7 separate regions of the Homo sapiens genome follow, and all the other regions are linked to region 6. The links are contacts of gene promoters, found by promoter capture Hi-C in blood cells and fetal thymus (Javierre and others, 2016). All regions are on one chromosome and are shown on one strand. The core of a region is centred on a gene start or on the middle of the fragment in contact, and the rest is flanking DNA. Distances in the headings are between cores, read along the strand shown. Region 1 has its middle 140 kb from the start of LINC02552. Region 2 has its middle 61 kb from the start of LINC02552. Region 3 has its middle 77 kb from the start of LINC02552. Region 4 overlaps LOC102723879 (a long non-coding RNA gene). Region 5 has its middle 160 kb from the start of LINC02552. Region 6 holds the start of GRIA4 (glutamate ionotropic receptor AMPA type subunit 4). Region 7 has its middle 120 kb from the start of LINC02552.

What was found. The method cuts DNA at HindIII sites, captures the fragments that hold promoters and counts their contacts. A CHiCAGO score of 5 or more calls a contact.
Region 1: a contact is called between a fragment that was not itself captured here and the fragment with the promoter of GRIA4 in region 6, in 1 of 17 cell types (naive CD8 T cells). The highest score is 8.9, in naive CD8 T cells.
Region 2: a contact is called between a fragment that was not itself captured here and the fragment with the promoter of GRIA4 in region 6, in 1 of 17 cell types (naive CD8 T cells). The highest score is 5.0, in naive CD8 T cells.
Region 3: a fragment that was not itself captured here is called in contact with the fragment with the promoter of GRIA4 in region 6 in 1 of 17 cell types (naive CD8 T cells); the score reaches 7.7 in naive CD8 T cells.
Region 4: a fragment that was not itself captured here is called in contact with the fragment with the promoter of GRIA4 in region 6 in 1 of 17 cell types (naive CD8 T cells); the score reaches 7.5 in naive CD8 T cells.
Region 5: a fragment that was not itself captured here is called in contact with the fragment with the promoter of GRIA4 in region 6 in 2 of 17 cell types (non-activated CD4 T cells and total B cells); the score reaches 5.5 in non-activated CD4 T cells.
Region 7: a contact is called between a fragment that was not itself captured here and the fragment with the promoter of GRIA4 in region 6, in 2 of 17 cell types (activated CD4 T cells and naive B cells). The highest score is 6.3, in activated CD4 T cells.

What each region holds. Positions count from the first base shown.
Region 1 is chr11:104,471,534-104,474,821 of GRCh38, reverse strand. No RefSeq gene overlaps it. Among named protein-coding and RNA genes, the nearest start is that of LINC02552, 140 kb to the left of the region's middle. The HindIII fragment of the contact is 791 bases long and covers 1,613-2,403 here.
Region 2 is chr11:104,546,667-104,549,687 of GRCh38, reverse strand. No RefSeq gene overlaps it. Among named protein-coding and RNA genes, the nearest start is that of LINC02552, 61 kb to the left of the region's middle. The HindIII fragment of the contact is 4,818 bases long and covers 1-3,021 here.
Region 3 is chr11:104,530,282-104,533,573 of GRCh38, reverse strand. No RefSeq gene overlaps it. Among named protein-coding and RNA genes, the nearest start is that of LINC02552, 77 kb to the left of the region's middle. The HindIII fragment of the contact is 1,950 bases long and covers 788-2,737 here.
Region 4 is chr11:104,350,379-104,353,675 of GRCh38, reverse strand. All of the region lies in intron 3 of LOC102723879 (a long non-coding RNA gene), which reads right to left. Among named protein-coding and RNA genes, the nearest start is that of PDGFD, 190 kb to the right of the region's middle. The HindIII fragment of the contact is 6,828 bases long and covers 1-3,297 here.
Region 5 is chr11:104,445,411-104,448,451 of GRCh38, reverse strand. No RefSeq gene overlaps it. Among named protein-coding and RNA genes, the nearest start is that of LINC02552, 160 kb to the left of the region's middle. The HindIII fragment of the contact is 2,560 bases long and covers 273-2,832 here.
Region 6 is chr11:105,608,423-105,611,830 of GRCh38, reverse strand. GRIA4 (glutamate ionotropic receptor AMPA type subunit 4) reads right to left here and starts at 1,758. Exons shown (of 17, transcript NM_000829.4): 1 at 1,403-1,758; 2 at 746-923. The coding sequence starts at 833. RefSeq lists a silencer at 582-782. The HindIII fragment of the contact is 4,294 bases long and covers 223-3,408 here.
Region 7 is chr11:104,487,525-104,490,836 of GRCh38, reverse strand. No RefSeq gene overlaps it. Among named protein-coding and RNA genes, the nearest start is that of LINC02552, 120 kb to the left of the region's middle. The HindIII fragment of the contact is 684 bases long and covers 1,654-2,337 here.

The DNA of each region.
Region 1 (3,288 bases), core at 759-3,258, 1.1 Mb after region 6:
TCTAGCTTGTTCACAATCGCCTCTGTTAGATGCAACGCTGCAATCAAGGTCAACAAATCTGTCAAAATTTAACAATTTCCTTATATCAACTTCCTAAACGTCAAGTCTAAGATTATGAGATATATATATTATTTCATATAAGATTTTTTTTCCACAATCTCAAATTGCCCGAAGAAAGGGTTAGTTTAGTACTCACTAGTAAAAATTGGGTGATACCTGATACCTGATGGATTTTGTTGACATTTTGTTTCATGTTAAAGAGAAAAATTTTATCCCCAAAAGCCAAATAGAAGAAAAAATAGTCCTGCAGTCTTTCTAAAACTAGCTTGCATATATATATATATATAGAGAGAGAGAGAGAGTCATATATATAGACATATATAGTCATATATATAGAGTCATATATAGAGTCATATATAGTCATATGTATATAGTCATATATATATAGTCATATATATAGTCATACATAAATATATAGTCATATATATATATATATATATATATATATATATATATATATATATATAGTCTGGCTCTATCACCCAGGCTGGAGTGCAGTGGTATGATCTCTGCTCACTGAAACCTCTACCTCCCAGGCTCAAGCGATCCTCCCACCTCAGCCTCCCAAGTAGCTGGAACCACAGGCACACACCATCACTCCCAGCTAATTTTTATTTTTTTGTAGAGAAGGTGTTTCACCATGTTACCCAGGCTGGTCTCAAATTCGTGAGCTCAAGCAACCCGCCCTCCTAGGCCTCCCAAAGTGCTGTTATTGCAGGCATGATCCACCCAACTCAGCCCTACCTTGCATTTGTAACACATAAAATTTTGATGAACCCATGCCACCCTGATCCCTGAATTATATCCCTTTGCACCCATAAAATCTGGTTTTCACAATTATTCTGAGTTCCATTAAAATATTCTCATGAAATGCCATGTGGATACCACGTACCTTCTTACCTGTTCAATTTGCTTATCCATCTTTGCTTTCTGAGAGGTGCTATTTATTTATCTTCCTACAATATCTTCTATTTTCTAATGTTGTTTTCACTGAAATTTGAGTATTCAATACAAAAAGCCCAGAGACAGAATTGCTGGCAACAGATGGTTCTCAAAACGTAGTCTCAGACCAACAGTTTGAGAATCACCTAGGAACTTAGAGATACAAATTCCCAGCTCCACTCTAGAACAACTGAGTCAGAAACTCTGGGGTGGGGCCCAGCAATCTGTGCTTTAATAAGCCATCCTTTGGGTGATTCTGATTTATGCGAAGGTTTCAGGATTATTGGATGCCATAGTACCAACTGCAATTTAAGGTTTATGAAAGCACCTGCCTTGGGGTCAAACCACTTTATGGCTGTGTGATCTTGGAAGAGGATCTCAACTTCTCTAAACCTCATTGTTCAATGGAAATAATAATTGTAATATTTAAATGAATTAATTTATATAAAGCAAGAAGCATAGTGCATGATAAACAGGTAGCTCTTATTGTAGAGATTACAACCATGATAATGATAATGACGGATGTGCAAATTAAAAAAAACTTTTATGCTGCATTTTTCACTTTCAATTTATACTTGCCCCAATACATCTCTTTTATGTATATTAAGCTTCTTTTCTGATACAAGTAATGGTGTAAGGTGGTGGGAAGGAGCACAAGCTCTGGGGCCAGGCAGTCCGGATAGAAATCTCTGTTCCACCTACAGTTTTAGATTTAGCAAATAAAATATAGGATATGTAGGTAAATTTGAATTTCGGATAGTGAATATTTTTAAGTTTAATTATACCCAATGAAATATTTAGAACACACATAAAAATTTGTTTATCTGAAGTTAAAATTTACCTGGGGACCTGTATTTTATCAAGCAACCCTCCCTGCACCACTTATAACTGTGAGGTATTACCAAGTTACTTAACCTCTCTGTGTCCATTTCCTCATCATTAACAAATGAATAATAATAGTATCTACAGTTTAGATTTGCTGTGAAGAATATAAACTACGTAGGTATTATACCTATACTTGTGTGTACATATATATTATATATAAAACAAATACCACCCTGGAAATAGTACTCAGTCTAATATATTGTTGTTAATTACTCATAAAACCTAACCAGGTTTTTATTTTAAACCATGACAAGGCCTCTAATTTATTCTTCTGAAAACAATGCTTAGGAATCTTGCAGAGTAGAGGATATTGGTTAGTACAGGAAACACTTACACTTTAGTAATACAACTAGATACTTGTAAAATATGTAATTCTATTGCAGTAGAATTCATTAGCATATAAATGCTTCTTTCAACAAGAGAAACAAGAACACAGACTTCATAACTGCTGCATATAAAAACTTTTTTACATCTATTTCTAAAGCCTGACAGTCATTATGCCAAATAACCAAAGCTTTTACTAAACTCTTACAGATTTTTTTTGAATTCTAATGAATTTCAAAAGCAGCCCTATAAAATAACTAGTACTAGGTAAGTTATTTTTCATAGAACAAAAACAACCTTGAAGATTTTGAGGTTTTCACAGTTTATTTCCTTTGGATGCATTTACTGTGAGAGGTGAAAATCTATAGCTGAGTTGTTAGGTTAGGTAATAATTTTTACATCACATGTTTTAAAGCTGGGAATAGGATCTGTGGGTTTTATTTTCATTTGTCTTTTTTTCTCTGGTAGGAAAATTTGTCAAGAATACCTTTTTAGAAAACATTTTTTAGAGCAGCTTTAGGTTCATGGCAAGTTCAAGAGAAAGGTAAAAAGAATTCCTATATCTATCCTCTCCCCACAAAAACATGTACAGTCTCCCCAGTTACCAACACTCCCCACCACAGGTGGTACATTTGTTACAACTGATGAACCTACACAGACACATCATTACCACTGAAAACCTATAGTTTTCATTAAGGTTCACTCTTGGTGTCTTATAATCTATCAGTTTGGACGAATGAATAATGACATGTGTCCACCATTATAGTGGATATGCCACATTTTCCCTCCCTTAAAAATCCTCCTTGTTCTGCCTATTCATCCCTCCCTCCTTCCCTCAAGCCCTGGCAACCACTGATCTCTTTATTGCTGCCACAGTTTTGCCTATTCCAGAATTTCATATACACGTGGTTGGAATCATACATTGTGTAGCCTTTCACACTGGCATCTTTAACTTAGTAATATGCCTTCAAGGTTCTTCCATGTCTTTTCATGGCCTGATGGCTCATTTCTTTTTAGCACTGAGTAATTTTCTCTTATCTAGATGTATCACAGTTTATCCATTCACCTATTGAAGGA
Region 2 (3,021 bases), core at 391-2,890, 1.1 Mb after region 6:
AAAGAAAGAAGGAAAGAAGGAAGGAAGGAAGGAAAGAAAGAATGAAAGAAAGAAAGAAAGAGAGAAAGAAAGAAAGAGAAAAAGAGAAAGAAGGAAAATTTTGCTAAAGATTACACGGCAAATTATAACCTCAGATCACTCTGACCCCAAAGCCCATGTTCTTAACCTCACCAATATACAGTCATTTGAAAAATAACTTTAAAATCAAGAGAAAATCTCATCTGCAACAACAAGAACATTATATTACACCAACATACTAACTGAAAGATATATTTATTCCAGTTTTAAACTGATGTTGTATGTTGAAAATAATCTGGGTTTTCCAAGCAGAGAAGTAAACATCATACAGTAATGCATCCTGTAACATTTTAGTCAACGACCAACCACATAAAGACAGTGGTCCTTTAAGATTATAATAGAGCTGAAAAATTTTTATCACCTAGAGATTTTGTGGCTGTCATGCTACCCTACCATGATACATTATTCAAGTGCTTGTGGTTATGCTGGCATAAACAATGCTACTGTCCTTTCAGTAGTATACAAGTATAGCACATGTAATTATGTATAGTACATAATACTTGATAATAAACAACTCTGTTACTGGTTTAAATATTTACTATACTTTTTATCATTATTTAAAAGTGTACTCCTTCCACTTAAATATATATATTTTTACAAAGTTAACTATAAAATAGCTTCAGGCAGGGGCGATTCCAGAAGAAGGCATTGTCATCATAGGAGTTAACAGCTTTGTGCCTGCTATTACCCCTGAAGACCTTCCAGTAGGACAAGATGGAGAGGTGAAAGACAATGATTTGAGTGACCCTGATCTTGTATAGGACTAGGCTAATCTGTGTGTTTGAGTCTTAATTTTTTTAAAAAAGTTTGAAAGTTAAAAAAAACACACACATTTTAAAAATAGAGAAACACTTATAGAATAATTACATAAAGAAATAAAATGTTTATACAACAGTACAATGTATTTGTATTTTAAACTAGGTGTTATTCCAAGAGTCAAAAAATTTAAAAAAGTGTATAAAGTAAAATTACAATACCACAGTAAGCTAAGTTTAATTTATTATTGAAGAAAAAAATTTGTTTAATAAATTGAGTGTAGCCTAGGTGTACAATGTTTATAAAGTCTACTACAGTGGTGTACTCTAATGTCCTAGGCCTTCACATTTACTCCACTCACTCACAGACTCACTCAGAGCGCCACCTTCAGTACTGCAAGCTCCATTCATGGTAATTGCCCTAAACCATGTACCATTTTTTATCTTTTATACTGTACCTTTTCTATATTTAGATGTGTTTAGATACACAAATACTTAACATTGCATTAAAATTGCCTACAATAGTCAGTAGAGAAACATGCTGTACCTGTTTGTAACCTAGGAGCAACAGGCTATAACGTATAGCCTAGGTGGATAGTAGGCTGTACCGTCTAGGTTTGTCTAAGTGCACCCTATGATGGTTGCACAATGATGAAGTCACCTAATGATGCATTTCTCAGAATGTGCCTCTGTTGCTAGGCTACATATGACTGTATATTCAAGAACATGGTTAAATCATCTCATTGTACTTAGCCAGTGCTACAGCAAATATTTATTGAAATAAGCTCACCTCCTAATGGGATTTATAACTAGTTTTATTAAATAGGAATTTCCATTGAAATAGCATTTGCTACTTAGGGTTTCACCAGCAAACAATATAATCTCTCATCCAGGAATTTAGATCTTAAGTGAATTTGAAAGGGACATATCAGATACATAGTAGATATAGTAATATAACAATAATACACATTGATCATGATTTGGGTGAATTCTCTCAGTTGCTCTCTCTCTTTCTCTCTCTCTCTGTCACTCTATTTCTTCTCTCCTCTCTCTCTCTCTCTGTCTTATTCTTCAGTTTGTGAATGTGCACATGTAGAAACTTAGGAATCTGTATGTGAATGGTTGTTAAGGTAGCTTGTCTTGAGAGTTTCTTTACTACAGCAATGACTGATAAAGGATCACTGCCAAATTGTGGACACAAACACAAAAAGAGACAAAATTAGAGAGCAAGAGACAAAATAAAATCGAAGAACCAGTGACACCAGGTCTACTAGGGCTGAATTACCAAGGAAAGGATAGCAGTTCAACACATTTGCTTCAAGTCTACCGCCCAGTAGCCTGGAGTAAATACACTGGGCTATTCTCTTTTCCTTTTCCCAAATAGGATCGGGGGGTGAACTTTTTATTTATAGAAGAAAATAGTTACAGGAAACAGAAGAGGTGGTTAGAATGCAGTCTGTAACCTTAGCCCAAATTTTCCCTCTTTATTCTCAGAGAAAGTCATATATATATGGAGATAGAGAGAGAGAGAGAGCAGGAGAGAGAAAGAGAAAGAGGATTCCTTGTACTTTTTTTTCCTATTTTCTGCCTACCAAAATTTTGACAATCCTTTTTCCTTGAACTATATCTTTTTATTTGAATCAGATGTTGATTAATGTTTTCTTTTGATATGTTTCAATCAATTCTCAGATGTGCTTCTTCTAGTAGGGTTTCTGCATTTTCACTGATTTATGATTTATATGCTCTACTAATCCTCATGATGAATAATCTGTCAAAAACCACTCATATATAGTACTTGTCAGACAAGCAAAAATATTTTAAGTGAAAGAAAATCAAAACAATCAGTACCACTTTAACATTTATGGGTTCATGTAATACTTGGATGAAGACTGTGTGTGTATACGTATGCATATATATACATATACCTGCATATATTCATATGTATATGCATGTACACATACAAAACTGTGTGTGTGTTAGTGTAAAACCCTGCAACCAAATCTTCTGTTGTATTTTTTTGGCTGATTAAAATTTATTATGCACTACTGGCCTCAACTTCTAAATTATCAACATTGGTGAAATATAAACCAGCAAGGGGGTATTCAGTAACTCAACTTAAAAGAGTCGGATGACACTGGATGCCTTTGCAGTGTTGTTCTAGCAATATCTAGAAAATTCCTGCCTTTGA
Region 3 (3,292 bases), core at 513-3,012, 1.1 Mb after region 6:
CTCAAAAAAAAAAAAAAAAAATGTTGATAGCTTACGTTAAGCTTAATAGGCTCAATTGGAAATATTTTTCTATACTTTACATTGCCATTTACAAAAGCTGAAACAAACATGAGATCAATATTTCATATTGCTCAGTCTTCTCTTCATTTTCTGAAATCTCAGAAAATTTCAGGAATCTCAGAGGTCATAACTGTGTGCAGTTAAATCTGTTTACTGCAACCTCCTGTTCCGTTAAACATTTTTTTTTCTTTCAAATCTTGGGGTTAGGGAAAGAAAACACACAGGGACATAACGGGCACAGGTCTCTTGCTGGCTTCTGGCTGGCGACTATATTGTATACTCATTTAATCTCTTCTAAACTCCATCTTCACTAATCATTGATACACAGAAATGAGAAAAACTGTAACATAAGTGAAAAGTAGCACATGCATTCACATTGGGCTATTCCGGTGGTGAATAAAGAAAATTCCCTTGAATCAATTAGACTGTGATGAAAACTATGAGAATGGCATAGAACCTGAGTGGTAATTTATAATCATCTAATTCACAATGTCTTTTCTAAGTGTTCTAATAGTGATTGTGTTAGATAGAATAACGGTCCCCCAAAGATCTTCACGTCCTAATTCCCAGAACCTATGAATATGTTACATTGCTTGGCAAAGGGATTTAAGAGTGTAGTTGAAATTAAGGGTGGTAATCAGCTGATCTTAACATAAGATATCATCCTCAATTATTCAGATGGGCCCAATATATTCACTCACAATAGACTTTGATGAACCTTAAAGCTTTTTAATTATTTTTAATCCAATAGAACATCTTCCTTTTTTTGTAGTTGTTCTTGGCATTTTCCTCACCTATCTTTTATATTGTATTTATCTAAGTTATTTGCCAACTACTTAAAGAACTCCTATTGGGAATTAGCACTATGCTATTGGAGTACACAAACCATTCATTACAGCGTTATGTGCTAAAACAGCAACAAGCAAAGACAGCTAATACAGCCTTGGAGATTGTGATGTATGTATGTGATATCTTCCCCTCTTTCTTCCTGTACGTTCAGAGATTTGTGTTTGTGTGTTCAAAACGTGATCCTTGAAGAGTCATTAGAGTATGAGACACAAGTCCTGAAAGATCAAAAGAGTATATGAAGTGAAACAGGATGATAAATAAAAAAAGATTGTGCTGCTTGGGAAAAAAAGTATACATCATACAAAGTAAGTGGGGAAAATGTCATATGAAAAGGATTAGAGGATGAAGCATCCTGGGAATGGCAATTTGGCTGGAATCACTTGAATAATAGGTGGAGGTGGTAGAAGGCAAGTCAGAAAAGCAAAAATGTGAAGAGCATTATACGCCAAGTCAGAGAGTTTTGAACCTTACCCTAGGAGCAATATGAAGCTATTGCAATTTTAAATCTATGAGAGACTATGTTTGTCACTGAGAAGTCAGGAAGACAGAAACCACACTAGATATTTCAACATAGAGACTATAATAAAGGGAACTGGTTTTACAGGCGTTGGAGGCTGAATGAGCAATTGGGAACACTAAAGTAATTCAGGCATAGTAACTAATGCAATCCCGAGATAATAACTACAAGAAGCAGCTACCATCCATATGACTTTGGAAATATATAGAAGAGGTTAATTTGGATGTGTGTCCCCTCCAAATCTCATGTTGAAATGTGATTAGTGTTGGAGAAGGGGACTGACGGGAGGCGCTGAGAGCATGGGGACAGATCCCTCATAAAGAGCTGGTGCCTGAGGTGCAGTGTGGTAAGGAGTTCTCACTCTGTTAGTTCATGGAGATCTAGTTGTTAAAAAGAGTTTGGGGCTTCCCTCCCCCATCTCTCTCTCTCACTCCCTCTCTCACCACGTGACATGCTGGTCTCCCTTCACCTTCCTCCAGGATTGTGAGCTCCCTGAGGCCTCACTAGGAGCAGATGCTTCTTGTAAAACTGCAGAACCATAAGCCGAATAAACCTCTTTATAAATTAACCAGTCTTAGGTACTTATTTATAGCAATGCAAAATGGACTAATACAACTACATAAATTCAATGTGAGGAGGGGTGTTTGAATTTGAGCTCTGACTCTGAGGACAGGGTGCAGTCTAGCTGCTGCTGAACCTTTAAGTGGGCACAATGAACCTGGCATTAACATGTGGAAAGAAGCTGGAGGCTGCAAGAAGCTGACTAGCTCCTGCTAGGGCAGAGTATTGTTGCTGGGACATTGCTGGTACAGCAGATTCCTACCTTCCAGCCTTCCTCTTCCACCCCCTACTGGCAGAATTTAACAATAGGAAGCCAGTTGGCAAAGGAGATAAGATAGGCAGTTTGCAGTGCTAGACCCAGCATCAGTAGGCTGACACAGAAGGGTAGAGCTGGTGCTGAGAGGAAACAATAAATGGCGCGGTCCACTGCTTTGACCACTCAGCCTCCTAATGATATGCAATATGATACTTAAAGTCCCAACCATTATGGTGTCCATCTTGTCTCTGGGTGATGTTAATTTCTCCTTTAATTCTGTCATAATCCCAACTGTATAGTCCATAATATAAAGGCTAACATAAAGGCTATATATTTTTGTATATTAATTTATTTAAATGACATATATATATATATTCCTAACAATAAAACTCTATGCAGTTGTTATTATACTGAATTCTGTAGAATGGTAACCGGCCACAATTTATTAACACATTTCTTTACTCATCTCATATCCCCTAGGGCTTCAACAAGCTTCTCAGCTTGTCAGTATTCTTTATTCAAACTTATACTCCGCTGAGGCATGAATTCTTTGTGACTGTGTTAGGATTCTCCAGAGAAACAGAATCAATAGGATATACACAGGTATTAAAGATAAATTTATTTTGGGAACTGGCTCATGTGATTATAGAGGCCAGTAAGTTTCACTACATGGTTTCTGCATGCTGGAGAGCCAGGAACATCAGTGGTGTCATAATTCAGTCTTGAGTCTGAAGGCCTGAGCACCCAAGGCGAAAGACCTGAGAATAAGAATGTGGAGTATCACTGATATAAGAAGCCTCAGAGTCTAAAGGCCCAAGAACCTGGAGCTCTGATGTCCAGTGGCAGGAGAGGATGGATGCCCCAGCTTCAGATAAGAGAGCAAGTTTGCAGTTCCTCCACCTTTTTGTTCCACTGAAGCCCTCTAGGGATTGGATGATGCCTGCCCACATTGCTAAGGGGGAATCTTCTTTACTCAGTCTACTGATGCACATGATAATCTCTTCTGGAAATATCCTCCCAGACACACCCAGAAATAATGTTTTAACAGC
Region 4 (3,297 bases), core at 541-3,040, 1.3 Mb after region 6:
ATAACATACATATGTATAACAATATTAACATAAAAAAGAATTGCAGGAAGGGAGCAACATAGGATTAAACTTTTATTTTAATTGGAACTAAGGGAATGCAAAATCTGAAGCCAATTGTGATATTGTGAGACCTCTAGATCAACCACCTAGAAGTAACTAAAAAATATATAATTAAAAGTATCAAAAGAATAGATAGAAAATATTCATTTAATAGAGAATAAGAAAATGGAAGTGAAATAAAGAACAAAAACGAGATATGAAGAAAGCAAAGTAAAAGGCAGATGCAAATCCAGTAACATCAATAATGGCATCAAGAGCAAATGGACTAAACAATCTTCACATATGGGGATGATGATCATATTAGTTTAAAAATACAAAATCCAAAGTTTTTTTTTTTTGCCCGGCTAGAGTGCAGTGGCACAATCATGGCCCACTTTAACCTCAAACTCTTGGGATCAAGCAATGCAATCCTCCCATCCCAGCCTCCTGAGTAGCCAGAACTACAGGTGTGTACCACTAGGCCTGGCTACATTTTCTTTTAAATTTTTTATAGCGACAAGGTCTCACTATGTTGCCCAGGTTGGTCTTGAATGCCTGGCCTCAAATCATCATTCTGCCTTGGCCTCCCAAAGTGCTGGGATTTTAGTCATGAGCTACTGCACCTGGCTCAAAAATGCATTCTTAAGCCAATAATCCAATAATAAAAATTCTCTTATGTAATCTAGCTCTTCCCAAACGTGAATTATTCTGAGATGAGTAGGAAAATTAATTAAAACCAGTATTCCTTTAACTGAGATTTCTGTATCCATTTTACTGAAACTTCTACAGCCATGACACATTGAATTTATATTGTAACATATAAAGCAAACGTTGTGTCTATAAAACATGAAAAAATTATTGCAGGGGAGTTTTTTGTAACGTCAGCTTTAGTTTATGGCTAATAAGATCAGCTAAACAATGTTCTATTGTCTACACTTAACTGAGTAATTTTGGACTGAATGCTATAAAAAAAAGTTGGCAATTTGATTAATTGATTCACCTGACTTTGTGTAACCATAGCCTTTATAATTCCAAAATGCAGTAAAAACATTTTATTTGTGTTTCAGAATAGTCAACACTCGATGAAAAAATACATTCCTTAAAATTAACCTGTAAATATTTTGTCTAATTAGAAGCAATTTAAGAAGGATGATTCAAATATTTCCAAAAGAAGGTTAATATTGAATATTTTCCTTATCTTTAGAATTTTCACATTATTTCAAGTATGTACATTCAAGGTCCATTTAAGTGTTCTATTGTACAAGTTTGAGTTTCATGTAATGTCTGCACTTCCCTAAGCAAAATAACAATTTGAATACTATGGAAAGTACAGTCATGCATCATTGAATAAGGATACGTTCTGAGAAATACACAGTTGGGCGATTTCATCACTGTGTAAACATCATAGAGTGTTTTACACAATCCTAGATGTTATCTCCTACTACACACCTAGGCTATAAGGTATAGCCTATTCCTCCTAAACTACAAACCTGTACACCATGTTCTGTACTGGATACTACAGGCAATCGTAACACAGTGGTAAGTATTTGCGTATCTAAACTAGAAAAGGTACAGTAAAAACATGGTAATATAATCTTATGGGACCAATGTTTTCTACACAATCCATCATTAACTGAAACATTTTTATGCAGTGCATGAATCTATTTGAGATTTTTTATATTATTATACATATTTTATCCTAATATATGTTCATACAAAATTTCATTTAAATTTTACGATCATTGCATTCTCTGTGGTCAGAAATAATGGTATAGGCAAATGAATAATTCTTTGCTTTCTTATGTATATGCCTTTAATCATAGAAATGGTTTGGTTTTGATTACTTCAAAATTAATTCATTGTTTTCCTAGGTCACATCTTTATGTGAGTGAATGATGAGTGAGTAAATGAGCAAATAAATTCTTGTGTCCATTTTTTTTCCAGTAGGATCTAAACAGAAATGAAGCCTACCAAACACAGAAACATTTTTTATATGCATGTCACAGGGCTTTAATTTTGAACTTTGTTTTGAAATGAAAGAATTCCTATTACATGGAAATTATGTCAATACAAGTTTTTAAATATCATTAATAAGCACTTAATGTTGCTCTTAGATGAATTTTATGCATTTAGTAGTATGTATGATTCCTTGAGACAAAATGAAAAGATAGGTAATTCCCAGAAAGCACCCTAAAGCTGAAGCCATTACAAAACTACAGATTTCTTATTAAAAGGAATATGCATTATTTTGTAATTCAGTAAATATATATTGGTTACCTAAAATGCAGCATTATAGTAAAGGCTAATAATAAAACAATATAAAATATAGACATCACTCCAGTTCTCAGATACCTTACAGATTAATACATCACTAGATTAGAATCCGTAAGACTTTCAGAGATATGGATAGAAAACAAAATGACTTAGATTTTGGAAAGTATATCATAACATAAAAAAGTGTAATGCTTGATTCCTTCAATGTAATATCGTAATACACATTTATTATAAAGATGCTGATGTAGACCAAGTCATTTCTACCTCTTCTTATTAAAATCATTTGAGTCTATTTTACATTTTTTTGAAATCTCCTGTGATCTCAAATTTCAACCCTTGCAGACAAATTTGATTTTGTAAGTAATTAACAAACTGTAGAATTATAAGAATATTTTTAGCTATAATAGCAAAGTAAAGCATATTTAAGTTTGAATTGGTTGAAAGAAAAAAATTCTAACAATCCACAACTTCTGTCTCTTTCCAGAAAGAAGTTAACAGTATCCCTGATGCATTTACTCCACAGTCTCTACCTCAGTTTAGGAATTTTTGTTTTTTCTTCAGTTCATTGTCCTCTTCTAAAGTATAAGTTTCAGTGGTTTTATAAGTAAACTGCTTAATAATTGCTTAATCCTTCCATAGATCAGTTTCCTCATCTGTAAGATGTGGATCATAAATGTGCCCACATCACTAGGTTTTTGTTGGAATTAAATAAAAACTGTATATAAACCATTAAAATAGAGTGCCACCAGTTCAATCACAGGCTAATTCATATACTTTAGCTTTAAGAGTCCAGTTTTCCTCATACACTCAAAAAACTGTCTCTTATCATTGATTCTGTCTTCCACATAATGTGTTATCTTTCTCAAGATAATGATCTTTGTCAAGATAATTTTTATCAGGCTGCAGATATACCCTGCCAGGTGAAAAAAAATAATACTTCATGTCTGTTCTGAGATAACGATTCATTTCTCTGTGCCTTTCCAT
Region 5 (3,041 bases), core at 303-2,802, 1.2 Mb after region 6:
TTTAAGATCTTTGTGAAGAGCACAGGTATTTATTTAATCTCTCCCAACATTTTTAATTTGTCTATTGTGAGTTCATATTTTGTATTTATAATACATTACATTAAAATATATCTAAATAAAATATATTCTAAATATTCACCTTTAAAAAATTAAACTATTAATAGTGATTATGAAATGATACTTGTGCCTCTAGGTCTTTGAGGTATCACCACACTATCTTCCACAATGGTTGAACTAATTTACACTACCACCAACAATGTATAATAAAAGCTTTCCTTTTTCTCTGCCACCTTGTCAGCATCTGTTGCTTTTTGACTTTTTACTAATAGCCATTTTGAATGGTGTGAGATGGTATCTCATTGTGGTTGTGATTTGCATTTCTCTAATGATCAGTGATGTTGAGCTTTTTTTTTCATATGATTGTAGGCCTCATGTATGTCTTCTTTTGAGAAGAGTTTGTTCATGTTCTTTACCCCCTTTTGAATGGGGTTTGTTTGTTTGTTTGTTTGTTTTCTGGTAAATTTGTTTAAGTTATTTGTATAGTCTTGATACTAGGTCTTTGTCAAATGGATAGATTGCAAAACTTTTCTCCCATTCTGTAGGTCGTCTGTTCACTCTGATTACAGTTTCTTTTATTGTACAGAGCTCTTTAATTAGATCCCATTTGTCAATTTTTACTTTTGCTGCAATTGCTTTTGCCATTTTCATCATGAAATCTTTGCCTGTGCCTACTTCCTGAATGGTACTGCCTAGATTTTCTTCTAGGATTTTTATAGTTTTGGGTTTTACAGTTAAGTTTTTAATCCATCTTGAGTTAATTTTTGTATACAGTGTAAAAAAGGGGTCCAGTTTTGATTTTCTGCATATGGCTAGCCAGCACTCCCAGAATCATTTATTAAATAGAAAGTCCTTTCCTCGTTGCTTGTTTTTGTCAGGTTTGTTGAAGATCAGATGGTTGTAGGTGTGCCGTTTTATTTCTACATTCTCTACTGTTCCATTGGTCTATGTGTCAGTTATTGTACCAAGACCATGCTGTTTTGGTTAGGTAGCCTTGCAGTATAATCTGAAGACAGGTAGTGTGATGCCTCCAGCTTTGTTTTTGCTTAGGATTTTCTTGGCTATTTGCGCTCCTTTTAGGTTCCATATGAATTTTAAAATAGTTTTTTTTTCTAAGTCTGTGAAGAATGCCAATGGTAGTTTAATGGGAGTATCACTGAATCTATAAATTACTTTGGGCAATATGACCATTCTTATGATATTGATTCTTCTTATCCATGAGCTTGTAATGTTTACCAGTTATATACCCATAGTAATATAAATCATTCTATTATAAAGATACATGCATGTGTATGTTCATTGAAGCACTATTCACAATAGCAAAGACATGGAATCAACCTAAATGCCCATCAATGATAGAACAGATGAAGAAAATGTAGTACATATACACCATGGAATACTATGCAGCCATAAAAAAGAACAAGATCCTGTCCTTTGCAGGGACATGGATGGAACTGGGAGACATTATCCTCAGCAAACTAATGCAGGAACAGAAAAACAAACACCACATGTTCTCACTTACAAGTGGGAGCTGAATGATGAAAACACATGGACACAGGGAGGGGAACAACACACACTGGAGCTGTTGGGGTTGTGTGGGGAGGGAGAGCATCAGGAAGAACAGACAATGGATGCTAGGCTTAATACCTAGGTGATGGGATGATCTGTGCAGCAAACCACCATGGCACACATTTACCTATTTCACAAACCTGAACATCCTGCACATGTACCCCTGAACTTAAGACAAAAGTTGAAGGAAAAAAAAAAAACTTAAAAAAAATAGTGAACATCTTTGAGAACTCTTAGCTCTGTAAATCTGGACAGTTTTCTTAGCTCAGTATTCTCATCTATAAAATCAAAAATTTAATAAATATAGTAATTGACACATGTATGTGTTCATTAAGTAGTGGGTATGGTTTTTGGTTAAGTGTAGTTACCATAGAGATTATGTAGCTACAGTTACTAAAGAGACTAGTTTTTTCCCTCATTCACAAAAATTATTAGTATTAACTTTTGATATGTTTTTAAACACATTTTGTAAAAGCAATTCAAAATTAAAATTTTTGTATGCACAAGTTAAAATAAGACCCCCATAAAAAAGAAATATACACAATAAAATCCAAAGATTTAAGACATTCTACATGTTTTTAGTGTTCTTATACATTTACATACATATTTACGCATATATACATGAATGAAGATAATTTTTGCAGTTCATATAATAGATAAGATTAATGATTTACAAAATTTGTCATAGGTAAAGAAGTATATTTGTCATAGGTAGAGAAGTATATTTGTTTCCAATTGTTTTTATGGCTACAGAATCTATTATCAAATTACACAAATCAATAACTATTTAATCTTTCTCTATTTTCCTACTAGAAAACTTGCTGCAATTAAATGCCCTTTTTGGGAGAATATCTAGAAGAAAATTGAGGAAGGAAGAAGTGAGAGATAAAGGGTATTCACATTTTAAATTTTGATAGAAATTTCTTGATTACTTTATAAAACTTATATTCAAACAGTATTTGAAATTTTCTGTTTTTTATTATTTTTATCCCAACTGAAAGTATTGAGGCATTTTTAAAAATTTTACAAATCGAACGGGAAAATAAAATCTCAGTGCTGTTATAGTTTATATAACCATCATTGAAAATGAGGTTGAGAAACTTTGATTTTCTGTGAATTGTTAACAGCCATTGACCATTTTTCTTCTGTTGGGTTTTTTGTGTTTACCATATCGATTTAAGAAAATTATTTATATATGATTAAGCTTTAATATTTATCTTCCATCTTTTCTATTGTGCTAGGCTGTCTTTTTATTTGGCTCATGGTATCTTTCTTCATAAAGAAGAGTTTAAAATTATCATTATTTTGTTAAAGTTATCTTCTCTTCCTGCATGGCTGTCTGTTTTGTTTTCTACTGCAAAAGGCCCCCCACGCTAAAATATTCTTGACAGTATTTTCATAATTATTTTATTGCA
Region 6 (3,408 bases), core at 509-3,008:
ACTCAGCCTAATTAACTCCGTTTTATGCACAGTCCACGAGAAATGATGCAGTGTTGAGGCTGGGCTTAGCTGGAAGAAATTCAATAGCTGCGTCCCATTAAAAGACAGTAGAGGAGAATAGCAAGAAAAGCCAAGGATGGAGGGTGTCCCTGGAAACAGAGTCGAGGTAGAGAAATAAGGGCAAAAGCTTCAAGAAGAAAACAAAATAAAAGGGGAGAAGCTTCCAGGAAAGGGATCTAACTTTGGAATCTGCTAACTGGTAGCAAGAAACGGCAGGGCGTGCGGGTGGAAATGTCTTTTTCCTCAAACAGTGTCTTTCTGTAATAGCAAGAAAGCTGCGGCGTCCAGAATGGGAAGAAGTGGATTTTTTTTTTCTTTTTTAAACAAACTCGACATCACTTTATGCTTTAGAGAAAGGGATGGAAATAAATATCATATAAAATACAACCAAATTCCCCGAAGACTTTCCCCCAACTTATTTCAATCCTACTTAAGCGACTATAGGTAAAGGTGGAAATAGGGCTATGGGCTGAGAACGCATGGGTGGGCTGCCCTGGGTGTATTCCAACGGAACCTGCACTAAAGAGGAAGTCTTTTTGCAAAGGAGAGAAAGGAAGAGGAGGGAAACAGAGGGGAAGGGAACTGCTGAAGGTTTCCCTGAATTGCTTATCAGCAACTCATTTAACTCACTTTCGGATATCTGCTACAACCAGCCACATGCACACCCCATCGGAGCACACCTTACCTATTTGCACGCTGCTCGGAAAGGCTCCCATGGCGAGTCCCCAAAATCCAGAAAATAACAAGACAATCTGTCTGGAAATAATCCTCATCTTCTTTTCTCCTCTCCCTGGCGCGCGCTCTCTCTCTTTCTCTCGCACTCTTCCTAAAGGCTGTTCAGAGAAGCATTGAAGACGATGGCGCTAAAATTAAAATCAACCAAAAAAAAAAAAAAAAAAAGAAAAGAAAGAAAAGAAAGAAAAAAAAGGAAAGAGGTTTCGGTGGTTTAAGATTATGACTAGTTCTCCTTAGCAATCCATCGCGAGCCGCCAGATTTTTCCCGCAGTCTCCATAGCCCTGGGAGAGGTTTTCTGTCCGGCTGCAAATGTTGCACATGCAAAAGATGGTGGTGGAGCGTCTAGTGGCTGCTCGCAGGGATGAGACATGCGCTCTATCTTTGCCTCACTCGCACTCGCGCTCGCCCCTTGCTTTCTCACATACACACAAACACTGGCGCCGCGGCCGCCACACGCGCTCTCCAGCTCGCATCAGCCGACATCCCCCAGCAAGCCTGCACCAGCCCGGAGCATCGCTGCCCTCCTGGCGTCCCCTCCTCGAGCGCGCACTCCCTCCGCACGCCCCTCGCCCACCGCTCGGCTGGCTTCACCCCCTGGGTGCTCACCGGAGCGCCCCAGTCTCCCGGACGCTCCGGAGCCAGTCTGGTGTCAGGTTTTCCCTTCTGACCACTCGCTGACTCCCTCCTCTTTTCTTCCTCGGTTCGCAGAGGGACCGACTCTGGGGATGGGCACCCCCAGCGCCCCTCTCTTGGTTTTCCTGGCACCTCTGCTTCTCGGCTGCGCTAGGCAGAAAATCCGCCCACGGGCCAGGTCTGCAAGCCCCAATCGGGGGCTCCGGGGGGTTAGTACCTCCCCATGCCCCCAGGCCCCTGCCGCATCCTTGCAGGTTCGTGAGGAGGACGGGCTGCCTCCCTCTCCTACAGTCCTGGCTTCCCTCTCAGCCTAGCCCTCTTCTGCCACTGGGCTGCGCGCGGGGGACTCCGGTCCTCGCTGCAGCAAAGATTTCTCACCAGCAAACAGCCCGGGAATCTGGAGAGCCTGACAAGGGAATGGATGAGGTGAAAGGGTTCAGAGAGGGATGGGAGGAGAAAAGACAGGCAAAGGGCAGCCCCTGGCGGGTTTAAGAGGCCAGGACCAGGATGAAAGAATTGGAGGAGGTAAGGATGGGGAAGAGAGCCAGAGAAGTTGAAACATCCTGGGAAGGGGAGGAGGGGGTAAAAGGTTATTTTAAATAACTGACGAAGTTTAGGGTACTGAACGGGATGGGGAAAAGACTGAGAAATGAAAATTGAAAGAGGCCTCTAACATTCTCTTGGAAAGGCATGAAGCAGGGATAGGAATAAGAACTGCGTGAAGTGTAAAGTAGGAAAAGTGATTAAAGATTCGATTGCTTTCTATACAGTCACCCATTCCGGAGGACTCTTTCCTTCTGTGCTGTGGCCCATTGCAGGAGCAGGAGGGACACAGCGCAAAGGCTGATGAAGGACCAGAGGGGCAGTGCTTGGGGCAGTGGGCACAGGTGTCTGACAGGAAGATAGTGTTTCGTGCACATCTCCTCTTGTCTGGGACTCTGGAATGCTCACTCTGCTCCACGCCACCTCCAGGTAGACTTAAGCACTTCAGTGATGATGTCAATAGTTGTTTTGACTGGGTAGAAGTGAAAATGAATTATCCTAGAAAGTTTTGGGGTTACAGTCTCACTTGCTCTCCAGAGTCACCTTTAAGATTGTCCTTTCATCTGCCTGTCCTGGACTGAGCTTGAACCACACTCAGAAGCAGTCACTGTGGTAGCCGTGAGTGACCGGTTTCTGATTTCCTCTGTATGGTTTGAGATTTCCTGATCTAGTTAGTAAATACAATCTCCTGTTCCAATAAGCTGTGTGAGAGAATCATTAGAAGGAGAGGTTCTCCTTAAACGTTAGGGAACCTAGGGTGATGTCTGCCATTAAATTTTTAAAAAGAATATAGCAAATGCCTAGGTTTGCCTGATATAATATTTGAGACTACAATGCTTAAAGTGGAATTCTTGCAAGGGACTTACAGAAAGCCTGGTAACGGCTTTTTGAAATATACATTACCTTAACTCTTTCAAAATACTTTATTTGGTGTCACTGATTACCTGTATTTGTAGTTTGTAGATGACATTTTAAAATCCCTGCTAAAACTTGAGTGCTTTTCTATTTCCTAAGTTTTGAATTTTATTTTTAAAATTGCATCTTTAAAATAAGTGTCTGCTTTCCCGTTACATTTCACCACAGATTGTTATGAAAAAAAAAACCTAATTGTAACTGTATTTTACAAATCATACATTTGTCATTTTAGTTTGTGAAGTTTTAGTCTTGCAAGTCAAGTGAAATTTGAAGCATTTTTCCTTTTTTTATTTTTCTGTGTTAAAAAACAAGGCTGTGAATAATAGCATTCTGTTTTCTCTTGAAAAAGGATAATAGAGTATGACACATAAAATTCAAGTTAAATTAAAATTTCAAAATCCACCAAACTGTTAAACTCATCACTTGCTTGGGTAACTAGTGAAGCTCTTCCTGATCCAGAGGCAATTATTAACTTTAATTCTTCTCAAAATTGAAAGATTTCAGTTTTCATATGATGTAAT
Region 7 (3,312 bases), core at 746-3,245, 1.1 Mb after region 6:
GAGCCAAACCAAGACGGATGTCCCACAATGGGGCTACAGACAAACTGAGACCACTGAAGGAGCCAAACCAAGACAGACACCCTATGCTGGAGCTATAAACAGACATCCCACCATGAGACTACAGATAGATACCCCACCATGGGGCTTCTGAACCAGTCTGGAGAAGGAAAAGCCATTGGCAGTGCCTAGAATACTCACTAACCCAGACACCCCACAATGGGGCTGCAGATAGACACCCCACTATGTGGCTACAGACAGATACCCTGTGATAGGGCTACAGTTAAGAGATGTCTTCCCCGGATTATTTCTCTAATGCAAATAAATACATACATGTTCGGTCGGCAGTGTCCTGCCAGTAGAGATGGTAACAGAGTCAGCCCCCAGTCCAAGAGAACTAGGTGGCCACTTGGGCCAGCCTCTGGATCCATCGCTGGAACGGGGGGCTACCAAACTATGGGTATGCAGCCACAAGGGCAATCCTGGACGAGCCCCCAAATTTGTAACTGCCCAATGGGTTCACCTTTCCCACTGCCTAGACAGAGCCAACTTATCAAGGCAAGGGAATTGCAATAGAGAAAGATTAATTTACACAGAGCTAGCTGTACAGGAGACTGGATTTTTATTATTATTCAAATCAGTCTCCAGAATAGACATTTAATTAGGAGAGAGGATATTTTCTTTTTCCTACAAACTCCCATTACAATCCTTGGAAATTTAGTATTCACTTGCTGATGCAAGTTTTATGTTTCCTCTTGAGATTACTTGAAAAAGAAAGTTATTTTAACTACGTAGAAACAAAGAGATGGAATTATGCTTTAGTGAATGTACACAACTTCCAGAGGTTTTCACAGTTGTTTCATAATAGCCTGATATTAACCCTGTGAAGTACATTCTTCACACTGACATTTTACAGCATAGAAACCTGAGGCTAAGAAACAACAAACTCATTACAGTTCACATTGACAAGTCCTGAGACATCTGTCCTGGTAATTATTTTCTTTTGCCTTGGACTTTCATGGCTTCAGTTGCTACTTAAACTATCCCAAATTTGTATTTCTAGCCTAGACGTATATCTCTTAAGCTCAAGAGAAACATTCTCAACTGTTAATAATCATGGTCACTGGAAAACCACACTGGCACCTCAAAGTCTGATCCTTTCTTTCCTATTCCTGACTCCAACTTCATATTTCAATAACTTGCGATGACTAACTTCTTCCTCACACTCCTGTATTCAATCATGAAGTCCTTTTGTCTCTTAATCCTAAATATTATTACATCCAAATATTTATCTCCACTCCTACTGCTACTACTGTAGTACAGGTCACCAAATCTTTTATTTCAAGTACTACCAAACAGCTTTTTCTCTCTGTTTCTGGACTTATTTGCTTAAAATGCTTTTCTACAATATAGGCAGCAGCATTCTCAAAACGCCTATCTGATTGGGTCACTCCTGTCTTTTAAGCCTTTCCGTCAAATCCTATAAAACTTCTTTAGAAAGTATTTATAAAGCCTCCCATCATTTAGGCCCTGCCTAGATCTACAGCCTTACCAAGATGCCTCTCACACTCAGCATGCCTGCCAGGTAAAATGAAATTCTACTCATTTCTAGAAGTATCTATACTCGTACATCTCCAAACTTTCATCTATGAAGCTTACCTTACCTGGAATATACTTTTCTGCATATCCACACTTTTTTGCCCAAATGCTAGGGCTAAATTTCAGTCCTCCTACTCATCTTTCAGTTTTCATTTAATCTTTATATCTTCAAAAGACATGTAAGACTGCTAAAGTAGGTTAGGCACTTTGGTATTAGTTTGTCTAGCTCATTAATTTATTCTTTGACTTATTTGACAAAGGGTTATCTATAAATGCAGTAAAAAAAAAAAAAGTGGTTAAGAACACAAAGTCTGAAGCAAGAGCGCCTGGGTTTAATCTAGACTTGGCCCCTGTTGGCAGTGAAAGTTTATAGAAGTTGCTCTACATCTCTTTATCTCAGTTTCTCAATCTTTAAAAAGGGAAATATTATGGTACTTTCCTCAAACAACTTTTGAGGATTAACAAATATGTCTGTACATAAAACTGTGTCGAACACAGAGTATGTGACATGCTCACCCTCTAAATACCATTGCTATTTGCCAGACACAGTATGAAGCACTCAGATGTGATGACAAGAGAGGCAAGGTTCCTGCTCTTGTGGAATTTATACTCTAGTGGGAAAAAAAGAGATATCGAAAAACCCCATATAAATGATATAAATACCAACATGTCAACTGCTATGAAATAAAAGTACAGGCTGCATGAAGTCTAGGATAGGGCTATCCAATGTAGGCAAAAGCTTTTCTTGGAAAGTGACATTTATCCTGAGACCTGAAGACTGGGTGGAATTCAGTCAAGCAACGCAGGGAAGAAAATAGTAACAGAAGAGAAAAGCAACCCAGAAGGAGATCCTGTACTTTGTCCCTCACAGCACTCATGATGCTTTATTTTCATTATTTTTGTGGTACCTACTGGCCAGCTTCCACCTGACCCTGCACAGAAAAAAAAAAAGAAATAAAATCTTAAAGCTATGAACTCAATAACTGTAGCTCCCTTACAGCCCTGTTCTATTCTCAGCAATATGTGCATATCCAGCAAATGGGAGTTAATTCATGTTAAATCCTTGATATCCATCTATTGATCAAAGAGTTATCAAAAGGTTTAATTCAACAGCTCACTATTAAATAATTAGAGGGATAAATATCTTTGAAAGAGGAGGTTATACTTTTCCTATACTTTGTATAGGAAAGACTATTATATACATTTTCCATTTTTTTTGAGATGGAGTTTCGCTCTTGTTGCCCAGGCTGGAGTTCAATGGTGCAATCTTGGCTCACTGCAACCTCTGTCTCCTGTGTTCAAGTGATTCTCCTGCCTCAGCCTCCCGAGTAGCTGGGATTACAGATGCATGCCACCATCCCTGGCTATTTTTTAATTTTAATTTTTTATTTTTAATGGAGATGGGGTTTTGCCATGTTGGCCAGGCTAGTCTCGAACTCCTGACCTCAGGTGATCCGCCTACCTCAGCCTCCCAAAGTGCTGGGATTACAGACATGAGCCACTGCCCCTGGCTTATTATGTACATTTTAATGTGGGCATACAAGCAGCCCAAGTCTGCACTGTCATGCTTCTAATGCCTTCATTTCTTACAGCAGCATAGCTCTCTGCCAGTAGCCATCTCAAACTATCTGATGCAGGCACTAATGTTCTTTCTGGCCACACTAGCATACAACTTTATTTATAGATAAGTATCTAGGCTGGGAAATGTGCCAACAA